5 separate regions of the Homo sapiens genome follow, and regions 1, 2, 3 and 5 are each linked to region 4. The links are contacts of gene promoters, found by promoter capture Hi-C in blood cells and fetal thymus (Javierre and others, 2016). All regions are on one chromosome and are shown on one strand. Each heading gives the region's core, a stretch centred on a gene start or on the middle of the fragment in contact. The rest is flanking DNA. Distances are from core to core; before and after follow the strand shown.

Region 1 (2,700 bases), core at 65-2,564, 460 kb before region 4:
AGGCTGAGGTGGGAGGACTGCTTGAGCTCAGGAGGTTGAGGCTGTGGTGAGCGGAGATCATGCCACTGTACTCCAACCTGGGTGACAGAGTGAGACCCTATCTCAAAAAAAAAAAGAAAAGAAAAGAAAAAAAAAGAAAATGCTTCTTGACTGTCACCACCCCCCAGTTCCACACCGCTCCTCAGTCCCTGACTCCCAGCCCCTGGCAGCCAGCAATCTGCATTCTGTCTCTAAAAATCTCCCCATTCTGAACATTTCCTATAAATGGGATTGTACACTATATGGCCTTTTGTGTCTGGCTTCTTCTACTCAGCATAATGTTTTCAAGGTTCATCCATGTTGTAGCATGTGTCGGTATTTTGTTTCTTTTTATGAGACTGAATAATATTCCATTGTATGGATATACCCACATTTTGTTTATCCATTCATCAGTGGTGGACATAGGGGTTGTTTCCACTGTTGGGGTTGTGAATAGTGCTGCTGTGAACATTCTTGTGCAAGCTTTTGTCTGAACAAGTGTATTTAATTTGTTTTAGTCTATACTAAGAGTGGAATTTCAGGGTCCTGTCGTGCTTCTGTGTTTAGCTTAAGGTGGAACTGCCAAACTTCCACGGCAGCTGTACCCTTTTACATTCCCACTAGCAATGTGTGAGGGATCTCATTTCTCCACATCTTCACCAACACTTATATTTCATTAAAGATTTTTTATTATAACCACCCTAGTGGGTGTGAAATGATAGCTCATTGTGGTTTTTATTTGCATTTCTTAATGACATCAATCATCTTTGCCCTTCACTCTTTGGGGGGTCACAGGAAGGCCTCTCTATGCTATGCCTCCATGCCTCAGAGTCATCTGTCTAGGGGTGGTGTGAGGGTTAAATGAGAAAATCATGTGAAGAACTCAGCATCTACGCCAGGCACATAGTAGGGGCTCTTAAGACCAACTCAGGCAGTCCCAGGCCTGCCCCTGTCAGCTGGTAGGGAGGCTGGCCACTCAAAGGACCTCCCGGCTCTGACCAACGCGTAAGTTAGAGCTGCTCCCACGGCCTGGCAGTCCCCTCTGCCCACTCTGCCTCCACTGTCCTGGACTTCCTGGGGAACTGTGATCTTTCAGAGGCTGGGATGACATTTATGGAAGGTGGCAGGTCCCCTCCAGCCCTTTTCCATTTTCATGGACCCTCCTGGCCCCTGGGTGCCTTCCCTTCTAGGTGGTCTCTCAGCACTGCCCTCTGCTACTGGAGCATGATGGGAAGTGCCTGGAAATCTATCCCCTCCATGGTGGCCCTTAGCCAATGACTGAGGTGCAGGAGAGTGAGGTCCCAGCTCCCTTGCCTGGGGCGAGGACAACCCTGAGGTGTAATTTACACTCCCAAGTTCCCCTGCGAGATCAGGCAGAAGTCACCCTCTGCAGAATTTTGCCTGAATCTGCACCCTTCTTGGCCTCTTACTTTCTTGTCTTGCTCCCCGAGTCCCTCTCCAGTTTCCCTGGGAGCACTCCCAAATCATTTAGCTATGAATCCTCATCTCAGGATCTGCTTCTGGGGAACCTGATCTAAGACATGGAGCACCTACTGTGTGCCAAGCCCATGGCAAATGCTCAAATAGACAAAGATAAATAAGATGCAGTTCCTTCCCCCAAAAGAGCGCATGACTTGGTTGGGGTGGTCCTGATCACAGTAGTAATGCTAATAGCCCATGTTGTGCACCTTCTATGTGCCAGGCCCTAGGCTGAATGCTTTACATACATTAGTTCATTTAAACTTTCTAGCTTTTTCCGGTTCTAGGTGCTTTAGCAGCTGCGGCTTAAGGTGCAGACATGGCAACGTCAAGAACCACAACACACACAACCAGTCCCCAAAATGGCACAGAAATGGCATCAGGAAACCCCGATCACAAAGATACAAATGTCTTAATGGGGTGGACCTCAAGTTCCTAAGGAGCATGCACCTTGCCAAGAAGCACAACAAGAAGGGCCTAAAAAAGATGCAGGCCAACAATGCCGAGGCCATGAGGGCACGTGCTGAGGCTATCAAGGTCCTCGAAAGCCCAAGGAGGTTAAGCCCAAGATCCCAAAGGGTGTCAGCCGCAAGCTCGATTGACTTGCCTACATTGCCCACCCCAAGCTTGGGAAGCGTGCTCGTGCCTGCATTGCCAAGGGGCTCAGGCTGTGCCGGCCAAAGGCCAAGGCCAAGGACCAAACCAAGGCCCAGGCTGCAGCTCCAGCTTCAGTTCTAGCTCAGGCTCCCAAAGCTGTCCAGGCCCCTACAAAGGTTTCAGAGTAGAGATCTCTGTCCGCCAACATAAGGACAGAAGGACTAGTATGACCCCCCTGGGCTGCCATCTGCATGGGGCTGGTGTCCTCCTCTGCCATTTGTACAAATAAACCTGAGGCAGGAAAACAAAAAAAAAAGCAAAACAAAAAACAAAAAACAAACTTCTAACAACTTTGCAAGGAGATGCTATTATCACCCCACTTTACGGATGGGAAAACTGAGGCCCAGAGAGGTGAACTAATCTGTGGTCCAGGGTTTTACAGCTTGGAAGTGGCAGCACCCACCCTGAGACCTGTGCTCTTATCCACTCCTCTTTCAGCATGTTTCAGCTGGGAGCGGATGCCCCAGCTGCTTGCATTCAGTAGACCAAAGAGATTCTCCAGGGCCTTGCTGTGACTGGTTGTAAGGGTGTTTCATGACTACTTTG
Region 2 (2,700 bases), core at 63-2,562, 420 kb before region 4:
CACTGGGCCTTGCCTTTAAGAGACTCCCAGGACAGTGAGATGACTGTGCACAGGAGGCTTGAGGAATGAGTGCTGAAGCCAGCAAATATTTACTGAGCACCTGCTCCAAGCCAGGCCCTGGGCTGGGCAGGGGACAGCAAAACTGAATAAATAGACATGGTGCAGTTCCTCATGATTAGAGGCACATACGAGTTCCAAAGTCAGCTGATCAGGTTCAAGCCCTGGTCTGATGCTCTTTTGGGCAAGGTATTTAGCCTTTCTACACCTTGATTTTTTCTATCTGGAAAATGGGGATGCTAATAGTACACAACCATGGGGTTGTAGTAAGGATGAAATGAGTCAGTGTTTAGAGTGCAGGGCGTGGTCATTGCAACTTTCATTTTGTGAGCACTAACTCTGTGCCAGAAAGTGTCATGGCATTTGATGAAAACCACGTCCCTTACAGAGAAGGAGAGAGCACTTCTGGCTGAGCTGAGAGAGAGGCTTCATGGAAGAGCTGGTGCCACAGTTTGGTCTTGAAAGATGGAGTTAAATTCCATAGGTGGCAATGGGGGAGGGCGTTCCAGGAGGGGGAACAGCATGGACAAAGGCATGGAGGCAGAAAGACAAAAAATGTGCTGGGGGAACTCCAAAAGGACCAGTGAGACTAAAAGGCAAGGGAGATAAAACTGGAAAGTAGGCTTAGGCCAGATGAACATCTAGACCACAGAATGTGGCCTTTGTCCTGTAGGCAAAGGGGAGCCGTGATGGTTGCTGAGCAAGGGGATCTCGAAGGGAGATGAAACTGCTGATTTCAATAAGGCAGCAGAGTTAGTTTCCTTAGATGATAATAACAACAAGAATGATAATCAGAAACATTTCATTTTGTAGATTCTAAAGTTCGCTGAGCATTTTCATGGGCACAACCTCATCTGATCATTATGGCAACACTGTGGGGTGAGTTGAGCAGGGATTATTGCACCCACTTTACAGAGAGGAGGATGGGGCTTATCTGAGGTTACCTAGCAGGTTGATGGCAAAGTCAGAAGCTAACGTGGGTCTCCTGGCCAGCATCAGCATGGATGGCCCAGTGTGAGTGAGGGACATAGGTCCCCATCTCATGGCTGCCCAGGGGAAATGGACCACCTTCTCAAGCCCCATCCTTAAGCTTGAAAATGTGTTTGTGTGTGGAGGGGGTCGTAAGGATGTCTGTGCAGAGAGCCTTCCAGTCACGCCAGCACCAAATCTTCTGTACTTCTGGCCCATTGCCAGGGGCCAGCACGCACTAGGCCAGCACGCATCTAACCTCTGCTGATTGGTACCGAGAGCATTGGTGATTTGGGCAGGGGGTTGGCTGCACCACTGCCAAGAGGCTGGTGAACTGCTGCAGGGGTTTGGGGAAGACATACACATAGCCCTACGCTTTTAGTGAGTCCTTCACCTCTGTAGAAGCCTCTCCCAGCTGAGCAGCAGCCAAGGCAGATGGAGGGAAGCTTCCCATTCACCTTCTCTTCTGCTGGGACTGTTCCCTGACCCCCCTGGGTTCCTGCCCCAGGACTGGGAGTCTGGCTTCTGATGGCCCAATCTTAGCTCTTCCCTCTCCTTGGATTCTGCCTGCTGGCTGATACCCTTCCACACTGAGGCCTTCCTCCTCTGATGTTCATTTCCAGGTCCTGGTCCCCAGCAGGGCCTAGGGTGAGAAAGGAAACAGTAGAACCCCTGGCTTCCCGAGCCTGCTCCATCCCGAGTTCTCAGCAGGGCCAGGCTGGCCTATCTTTCTAGAGGACCCAGCACAGGGCCTGCCTCAGAGTGCAGCCCAGGTAGCACCTGCTGGTTCTGTCTGCCAGGGCCCCAGCCTTCATGGGAGGCCAAGAGCCTTAGGGGAACGGACAGTGAACCCAAAAAAGTACATTGTGATATAAGCCAAAGGGTGGCCCCAGTGAAAGGCTTTGTAGGAGTTTGGAGCAGGTGAGGTTGTGGAGGCAGTCAGGGACTTCCTGGAGTGGTGTCCTGGATTAGAGCTCAGCCTTCCCTGAAGGTGGTGGGGCTTGGTTAGGGGAAGGGGTCTATACAGAGGATTCTTTCCAGAGGGTGGGGAGCCAGACTTACCGTGCCATATGAAGCAGTGGGTTGAGGGGCATGAGCAGAGGGGTGTGGGCATGCTTGCCTCAGGCCAGCCCTGGAAGGTGTGCAAAATGGCCCTGGGTAGTGATGGGCTGTTGACTGATTGATCGATTCATTTATTCAAGTTTATCCAGCACCTCCTCTGTGCCAGGTGCTGTGCTTGGGGCTAGGAGCTTAATGATGAGTAAGACAGATGTATCCCTTCCCTCCTGAGCTCCTGGTTGAGATGGGAAGGCTGAGGAGCAAACAGACTGTTTCAACACACTGTGATCAGTGCCAGGACAGAAGAGATACAGTGTCCCCTAGAGCAGAGAGGAGGCTTCAGCTTGAGACCCGGGGGTGGATCTAGGAAGACTTTCCAGGAGAGGTGGAGCTGAGATCTGCAGGATGATGAGTGAGCTGGGAGTGGGGGTGAGCATCCCAGAACTGGGAGAGGGGTGGCATTCCTTTCAATGGGTGAGGATCATGACATGGGGAGGGGAAGAGGAGGCGAGGTGCAATGGCAGATCTTGCATGTTGTGCTGCATTAAGGAATTATCCGGAGGGCACTGGGAAACGTTTGAAAGGTTTTAAGCAAGGGCTGGATGGGATCCGATT
Region 3 (2,700 bases), core at 38-2,537, 480 kb before region 4:
AGAGATGGGGTTTCTTTTTTTTTTTTTTGAGATGGAGTTTTGCTCTTTCGCCCAGGCTGGAGTGCAGTGGCACTATCTTGGCTCACTGCAAGCTCCGCCTCCCAGGTTCACACCATTCTCCTGCCTCAGCCTCCTGAGTAGCTGGGACTACAGGTGCTCGTCACCACGCCCAGCTAATTTTTTGTGTTTTTTTAGTAGAGACGGGGTTTCACCGTGTTAGCCAGGATGGTCTCGATCTCCTGACCTTGTGATCCACCCGCCTCGGCCTCCCAAAGTGCTGGGATTACAGGCGTGAGCCACCGTGCCTGGCTGAGATGGGGTTTCAACATGTTGGTCAGGCTGGTCTCAAACTCCTGATCTCAAGTGATCTGCCTACCTTGGCCTCCCAAAATGCTGGGATTACAGGCGTGAGCCACCATGCCTGGCCCGAAAAATACTTTTGAATGGGGCCATACCTGTCCCGCCTGAGGGGCAGGAAGCAGCATTGCTTGTGAGGAGTTGAGAGAATTTCAGCTGCGCTGAGGAGCAGGACTTCCCAAGGCATGTGGACCAGGTGGTTGGAGTATGTGGTGCTGATGGGTCAGAGGGAGGCAGGATGTTTGTGAGCTGTGGTCTGAAACCTCTCCGACCCCTGCATTCCTCACTGGGTCTGAAAGCTTCAGAGCCCACCTCACTGCTTTTTCTTCTGAGTAGGTGCTTCCTCACTGGGATCCATGTGATTTCTGAACCCCCCTGGCAGACCTCTACCTCTATGCAGCACTTTCCAGTTTGCAGTGCCTTCACCTTTTAGTCCTAGAAAGTTTCTTCCAGCCTAGAACTTCTGTGACTCCAGGCCTTGGTGACAACTCTGAGTAGTAGGTAGGGCTGGTGTCCCTGTTTTAAAGATAGGAAACAGTAAGTAAGTGGTAGAGTTGGGCCAGTGTTCTCCTTCCTCTGTGGGGCCCAGGCTGAGCCCTGTTGGTCCTCAGCATAGCACTTCTTACAGCACTTTGAAACTGGGCAAGCCCATGGGCTCAGGAGCAGTCTCTGTCTTGTTCATAGTTCTATCGCTGATGCTTAGTAGATGCACAAAAATATGAGAGCTGAAAAGTTAAAATTTGTATTCTCAATTTAGGAGTCTGCATATAGACATCTAGTATAGGGGTTGGTAAAAATTAAGACATTATGGAGTGTCTACAAGGACCCATGGTGGACAGAGTTGCCTGTCTCCACATAGATCCTTATCCCAAGGGCTTCACCCACACTGGCCAGATGCCCAGTGTTTTCTGTTTCCCCATTAAACTCCAGTTTATGACTCCAGTTTAAGATATTCTATGATGTCTATAACTGCTTAAGCTGGCACGTATTTTTACTCTTCATGTTTAGGGGGAAAAAAAAGGCTGTACAAGAGATAAGGCAGTGGTTCTCAGCTGGGGACATTTGGCAATGTCTGGAGATAGTGTTGGTTGTCACAACTGGGGGCAGCATCTAGTGGGTAGAGTCCAGGGATGCTGCTGGCCATGCTACAATGTGCAGGACTGCCCGCACAACAAAGAACTCCCTGGCCCCAAGGGTTGACAGTCTTAAGGGTGAGACTAGGTGGGACCTGTTGTGTATAAGGAGGACAGAGAGCATCTGGGAGTCATAGTGAGCCAATGGTTCATAAATAGTGGTGTAGAATTACAGGAATGAAGCCACATTGCAATCCATGGAGATATGCACTTGATCACTGTTTATCTGCTGATTGCCATGATTTGGGCCCTAAAGCTGGAGTAGGTGTTGGAAAATGTAGAAAGGCTGCAGTTTACTGAAGGGTTGAGGCCAGCAGTCAAGGCCATCGGAGGATTGGGGCCATTTGGCTCACAGAGTGAGGTGGGGAGAACTGGTCCACATGATTGCATGTGCAGTGCTCTGGGTGGGGGGTTGAGGCCAAAGCTTTAGCTTGGGCTCAGCCACTGGCTCGCATCTCAGGTCACTTTAGCTGGTCACATTTCTCAGAGCTTTGGTTTCTGCCTCTGCCCTTACCTCTCAGGACTGTCTTAGCAGTGGCACCAGCAACCTTCCTGCCTTACAAATCTTACAACTTTGGAGTCACTTTTGGGTTTGTCCTACTTTTCTCTTTTCTTTTTTTTTTGGAGACGGAGTTTCACTCTTGTTGCCCAGGCTGGAGTGCAGTGGCACGATCTCGGCTCACCACAACCTCCACCTCCCGGGTTCAAGTGATTCCCCTGCCTCAGCCTCCCGAGTAGCTGGGATTACAGGCATGCGCCACCACACCTGGCTAATTTTGTATTTTTAGTAGAGACGGGGTTTCTCCATGTTGGTCATGCTGCTCTCAAACTCCAGACCTCAGGTGATCCACCTGCCTTGGCCTCCCAAAGTGCTAGGATTACAGGCGTGAGCCACCGCGCCTAGCCTCATTTTTGTTTTTTACGAAGTCCTGTCCATTCTCCTACAGCAGCAGTGCTGTTCCTTTTCCTTCTGGAACTTCACATTTCAATCCAGGGCTCTGACCTGGTCTTGGCATGCTGCCAACTTCTTGCGACAATCTGGCTGCCCACCGAGGTAGAAACCACATCTCTTTCAGCCTTGGTCTGTGGCATATGGTAGTAGGAACAGACAAGAGAAACCAATTTATTGAGGGCTTGCTTTATGCCAGTTTTGTGCTGGACACTTTGCATATTCTCTTCCAAGTCTTCACAATGATGCCGTGTGATTATT
Region 4 (2,700 bases), core at 26-2,525:
ACACCTGACTTCAGGTGATCCGCACACTCCTTGGCCTCCCAAAGTGCTGTGATTTACAGGCGTGAGGCACCGCACCCGGCTGAGTTGTTTAATTTCTTGACCGTGTATGAGCACCTCGCAGTTCGAGAAGAGGGGAGAAGTGGACACACTGTGAGTGGTCTGAGTCATGAGACAGCCATGCGGCTGTGAATTGAGCCCTAGCGTCCTGACTCGCAGCTCAGCAACATAACTGCTTTTCCACCCTGCCTTTCTGTGTTCTGTGCACTGGCTTATGTCGCTGAATGTATGTACTCTGTAGAGTGCAACAGCACTAAAGAGCTGGAGATTGCTTCACAAGAGAGTCAAAAGCCAAAAATCCCCTGTGGCCCTAGGCCAAGTTTCTATTCCCGGCCACTGCCCCGCCCTCGTGGTGGTTGGTGTAACCCGAGCCCTAGCCCCGCCCGAAGTAGGGGCCAGGCCCCTCCTACAGTCTTGGCCGTTTAAAACCAAACTCAGTTCTTCCCGATTGGTTCTGCTTCAAAACAAAGGGGAGGAGGAATACTCGCTTTGGGTATGCTTGCAGCCTTCGGGGAGGAAGCTGGTTTACGGGTTCGGGTCTCGTGTCGGGGCCACCGCGGTGCCTCCGGTTATTAAAACCAGCCCCTGGACGGTGCCAGCCTGGTAATAAAGCAGTGACTACTATGTAAAGGTAGCATAATCATCCCAACAATAACAGCCGTAATTTGGCTAATCACCATCCGCCTCCGCCCTGGCGTTCGCCCTGACTCACCCCAGCGGCACGCGGGCCATAGGGGAAGAAACTGAGGCAGAGGCGGAGCCAGCAGGCTGGCGGCACCAGTAGCCTCAGTTCTGCAGCTCTCGAGGTCCAAAACCTGTTGTCTAGGATCCGCGCTAAAGGGCCAAATCCCGGAGCGCCCACAAAGCTCGATTCTGATGTAAGCTCTTCTACGCTGGTGTCCTCGCGTCCCCACCCCAGGCCTCGAGGCTCTAAATTCCCCCCAAGTCCTAGAAAAAGAACATAGCGCGAGGACTGGAAGTCAGACTACAGCTCCCTTAAGCCTTTGCGCGCCAAGGCGCGCTCCTTCCCCACGCCTCCGACGACTCCCGCGGCCACTTGCGCCGCGATGCCTCCTGGGAGTTGTAGGGCGGCGACGTGTCATTTAAGTGAATTCCCAGGCCTGGGGACTCTATATCCCGTGGTGCCCCGCGGCTGTTTCTGACGCGACCCGGAGGCCAGGGAGGTGGGGGGCGTAGCTTGTGCAGAGCCCCACCCCACTCTGCTCAGGCCGGCCGGACACGGCAGTGGCAGTAAGGGCGGCGGCGACGGCGGCGGCGGTCGGGGGAGGGGCCGGGCGGGGGGCTGGCGGCAGCGGCGGATGGACTCGCGGGTATCGGAGCTGTTCGGCGGCTGCTGCCGGCCCGGAGGGGGCCCGGCCGTGGGCGGAACCCTCAAGGCTAGGGGGGCCGGCAGCAGCAGCGGCTGCGGGGGGCCAAAGGGAAAGAAGAAGAACGGAAGGAACAGAGGGGGCAAAGCCAACAACCCCCCGTATTTGCCCCCCGAGGTGAGCACCTGAGAAGTGGTAGGGCGGGAAGAAGCCACTCTTTCCGGCCCAGGACTCTAGGGAGGCGGGACCCAGATAATTAATCTCCCCTTCCGGTGTCGAGACCCCAGGGAGGAGGGGCACGGGAGGAGAACACCTCTTTCAGGTCCCGGGACCCCAGGGAGGAAGGGCAGAGACTGGACTCTCAGGTGACAGGACCTCAGGGAGGAAGAGTGGAGAGGGAGGACTCCCCCTTCTGATCTAGATTACCCCAGGAGAGAAGTAGAGAAAGGGGATCCCAGGAAGAGCACCCCGACCAACTGCGTGTGCCGCCATAGGGCAAGAGAGACTGCATCCTGGGACGAGAGGCAGACAGTAACCACCACTTCTTCTAAACTTGTTCCACAGGGAGAAGGGGAGTACCCGGGAAAAGAGCAATATGTTCCACACGGACACACACACAGTACTCGGGAAAAGAGCAGTATGTTCACTACACACACACACACACACACACACACACACACACAGCCTAAGCCAGTGGTTATCAAACTTTGGCATGTATCGAATCACCCGGATTGCTGGCCCCCAACGCCTGGCCAATTTTATTTTTTTATTATTTATTTATTTATTTTTTTTGAGACGGAGTCTCTGTTACCCAGGCTGGAGTGCTGTAGGGCTATCTCAGCTCACTGCAACCTCGGCCTCCCGGGTTCTCAAGCGATTCTTCTGCTGCAGCCTCCCGAGTAGCTGGCATTACAGGTGCCCGCCACCACGCCCAGATAATTTTTGTATTTTTAGTAGAGATGGGGTTTCACCATGTTGGCCAGGCTGGTCTCAAACTCCTGACCTCAGGTGATCCACCCGCCTCGGCCTCCCAAAGTGCTGGGATTGCAGGCGTGAGCCTCCGTGCCCAGCCTAGAATTTCTGATTCTTTCTTACTAGTGAGGATGGGCCTGAGAATTTGCATTTCTTATAAGTTCCCGTGTGATACTAATGCTGCTGGTCCCAGGACCTCACTTTGGGAACCATTGGTCTGGGCCCTAGACTGTCATTCTTGTACCACATTTTTTGAAGCCACCCATCCCCAGAAAAATGATTAAAAGGTTTTTATTGATGGGGAAAAAAAATAATCTCCTTAACACACCATGAAGTGGAGATT
Region 5 (2,716 bases), core at 98-2,597, 440 kb before region 4:
GAATCACTAGTGGATATTACACGCTTTCCGGGCTTTTAATCAGAGGTTACAGAACATGTGAGTCTTCATGACTCAGGGTTGTGGTTACAAGGGTCCATCAGTATCCTGGTTGTAATACAGTGAAAATCCAAGGCCTTTTTTGGCCCCACACCAACGGCTCATTCCATGAAGGCTACATTTTCGTAGTTCTTGTGTCTACTTTTATAGTACTTTATCACTTCATCAACTCTCTCCGTATAAACTATCACTTCTGTTACCATCACTTTGCCTGCCTCCAGGGCAGACCACCAAACCCACCCTATTCTCAACTTGTTTCTGTTTGGCTGTGGGCTGAGATGTCCGAAAATCACATCTGTTGGAAGATGTGAAAAACAACGAGATCTTTTGAACTTGACAAATTATATTAAAGTTCATCTGGAGAAATAAACATGCAAAAAGAGCTTGGAAAATCCTGAAAAAGAAGTATTATAAGGGACGACTAGTGCTACTAAAATGTTGTAGAAAGCTCCAATAATAAAATAGTTGGGTACTGGCACAAGAACAGACAGGCAGATCAAAGGAGCAGAGTAGAGGCCAGACACACACCCGTGAACAAATGGAAATTAAATATATGATAAAATGACATTTTAGATCAGAGGAGAAAAGATGAATTATTCAATCAAATTGGACAACTGGTTAGCTGTTAAGGGGGAAAAAAAAGAAATCCAGCTCCCCACTTCATCTCTTATTCTGAAATAAATCCCGATGGAGTGAAGATTTAAATGTAAAAAGGAAACCATAAAATTACTAGAAGAAAACATCTGAAAGTCTAAAAGTGTATGTTCTTGGATTGGGGAAAGTTTGACACAAAACCTAGGAGTCACAAAGGGAAAGAATTTTTTAAAATTGGCTGTATTAAAATATGACGTAGGGTGTTGTGTTACATGCCTGTAGTCCCAGCTCCTTGGGAGGCTGAGGTGGGAGGATAACTTGAGCCCAGGAATTTGAGGCCAGCCTGGGCACCACAGTGAGACTCCATCTCTGAAAAAAAAATGTGTTTTTAATGTAATATCCTGAATTCTAAAGACAACCGTCTGGAAAAAATATTTTTAACATAGATGACCGATGAGTTTTTACAAGTCAATAAGGAAAATAAAAACGAATAGAAAAATGGGCAAAGCACATAAACCGGTAAGGGGATACTAATGGTTAACAAGCAGGTGAAAATGCTCACCCTCAGTCAAAATAGAAGAAATCAAAATGAAGACATGAGAAGATTCTCTTTTCGCCAATTTGATTGACAACAACTAAAATGGGCAACCCCTCACTGTGTGGACACAGACATCCTCAGAGCTGGGGGGGAGGACAGTTGCACCTGTGAAGGGGATTGGCAGTATACATGAGAAGAATTAATTCACAAACCATGGACTCGAGGGTTCCATATCTAGGAATTTATCAGATGCACTGTTATAAATGTCACAAGTGTTCAAAGTATACATACAAGTGTGTTCATTGCAGTTTTGCTTCCAAACCTGAAAAACTGGAAGCAACATTAAGTCCATTAATAGGGCACGGATTGGATATGTTATGATGCCTCCAAACACCAATAGTATGCAGTGGTTGAAAAGAGTGAGGTTGAGGTTGTGTGTTGATATTCACTAAGTAGAAAAGCAAGTGGCAAGACATTCCTTGGGTGGTGCTACTCCATGAAGGGTGTGCCCTCTGCCAGCATGGGCATGGAGCCTATTAGAAATCCAGAATCTTCAGCCAGTTGCAGTGGCTCATGCCTGTAATCCCAGCACTTTGGGAGGCCAAGGCAGAAGGATTGCTTGAGCCCAGGAGTTCAAGACCAGCCTGGGCAGCATGGCAAAACCTCTCTACAAAAAATTAGCCTGTAGTCCCAGCTACTAGGGATGCTGAGGCAGGAGGATCGCTTGAGCCTGAGAGGTGGAGGTTTCAGGGAGCCAAGATGGTGCCACTGCACTCCAGCCCAGGTGACAGAGAGAGACCCTGTCTGAAAAAACAAACAAAAAAGAAACCTGGAATCTTGGGCCACCGTAGAACTACGGGATCAGAAACACTAGGGCTGGAGCCCAGCAGTCTGTGGTTTTAACATGTTCTCTGTATGATTCTGATGCATACTCGTGTTTGAGAAGTACTGATGAGGAGTATGTCACTATATGTGTAAAAAATGGATAAAAACCAGTTAGCCCTTCTGCCTCTAAAATTTCAGAGTCACCAGAAAGGGCTTTCCATGACCAGAGTGAGAAGGGATGGAAAAGTCCACTTTTCACTTTATGTGTTTCTGAACTGTTCAGACTTTTTGCCACGAGAATATATTACTTTGGTTTTTTTAAAAAGTAGTTAACTCTGGAGACTGAGGCAGGAGAATCGCTTGAACCTGGGTAGCGGAGGTTGCAGTAAGCCGGGATCAAGCCACTGTGCTCCAGCCCGGGTGACAGAGCGAGACTCCGTCTCAAAAAAAAAAAAAAAAAAGTAGTTAATAAATAAAAAAAGCTACCCAAATGGAGAAAGAAAATGTGGTACATACATACAATGGAATATTATTAAGCCTTAAAAAGGAAGAAAATTGTGACACATGCTGTAACAGGGATGAACTTTAAGGACATTGTGCTAAGTGAAATCAGCAAATCACAAAAGGACAAATATTGTATAATTCCACTTTAATGAGGTAACTAAGGTAGTTAGATTCATAGAGACAGAAAGTAGAATGGTG

What was found. Contacts are between HindIII fragments. The CHiCAGO score rates a contact against its expected background, and 5 or more counts as called.
Region 1: a contact is called between a fragment that was not itself captured here and the fragment with the promoter of GTPBP2 in region 4, in 8 of 17 cell types (erythroblasts, M1 macrophages, neutrophils and 5 more). The highest score is 9.4, in erythroblasts.
Region 2: a fragment that was not itself captured here is called in contact with the fragment with the promoter of GTPBP2 in region 4 in 1 of 17 cell types (erythroblasts); the score reaches 6.2 in erythroblasts.
Region 3: a contact is called between a fragment that was not itself captured here and the fragment with the promoter of GTPBP2 in region 4, in 1 of 17 cell types (erythroblasts). The highest score is 6.6, in erythroblasts.
Region 5: a fragment that was not itself captured here is called in contact with the fragment with the promoter of GTPBP2 in region 4 in 4 of 17 cell types (erythroblasts, neutrophils, M2 macrophages and 1 more); the score reaches 7.4 in erythroblasts.

Annotation. Positions count from the first base shown.
Region 1 is chr6:44,088,824-44,091,523 of GRCh38, reverse strand. It overlaps the pseudogene RPL29P16. Among named protein-coding and RNA genes, the nearest start is that of SCIRT, 16 kb to the right of the region's middle. The HindIII fragment of the contact is 1,622 bases long and covers 504-2,125 here.
Region 2 is chr6:44,047,054-44,049,753 of GRCh38, reverse strand. The region is part of intron 1 of SCIRT (stem cell inhibitory RNA transcript); the gene reads left to right. Among named protein-coding and RNA genes, the nearest start is that of SCIRT, 26 kb to the left of the region's middle. RefSeq lists an enhancer at 467-616. The HindIII fragment of the contact is 325 bases long and covers 1,150-1,474 here.
Region 3 is chr6:44,105,115-44,107,814 of GRCh38, reverse strand. No RefSeq gene overlaps it. Among named protein-coding and RNA genes, the nearest start is that of MRPL14, 21 kb to the left of the region's middle. RefSeq lists enhancers at 1-401, 1,239-1,408. The HindIII fragment of the contact is 1,258 bases long and covers 659-1,916 here.
Region 4 is chr6:43,627,839-43,630,538 of GRCh38, reverse strand. It overlaps GTPBP2 (GTP binding protein 2), which reads left to right and starts at 1,275. Exons shown (of 12, transcript NM_019096.5): 1 at 1,275-1,562. The coding sequence starts at 1,377. It also overlaps a transcript of MAD2L1BP not described here. RefSeq lists enhancers at 246-465, 1,086-1,265 and silencers at 1,326-1,465, 1,486-1,565. The HindIII fragment of the contact is 21,691 bases long and covers 1-2,700 here.
Region 5 is chr6:44,069,266-44,071,981 of GRCh38, reverse strand. All of the region lies in intron 1 of SCIRT (stem cell inhibitory RNA transcript), which reads left to right. Among named protein-coding and RNA genes, the nearest start is that of SCIRT, 4.0 kb to the left of the region's middle. The HindIII fragment of the contact is 6,470 bases long and covers 1-2,716 here.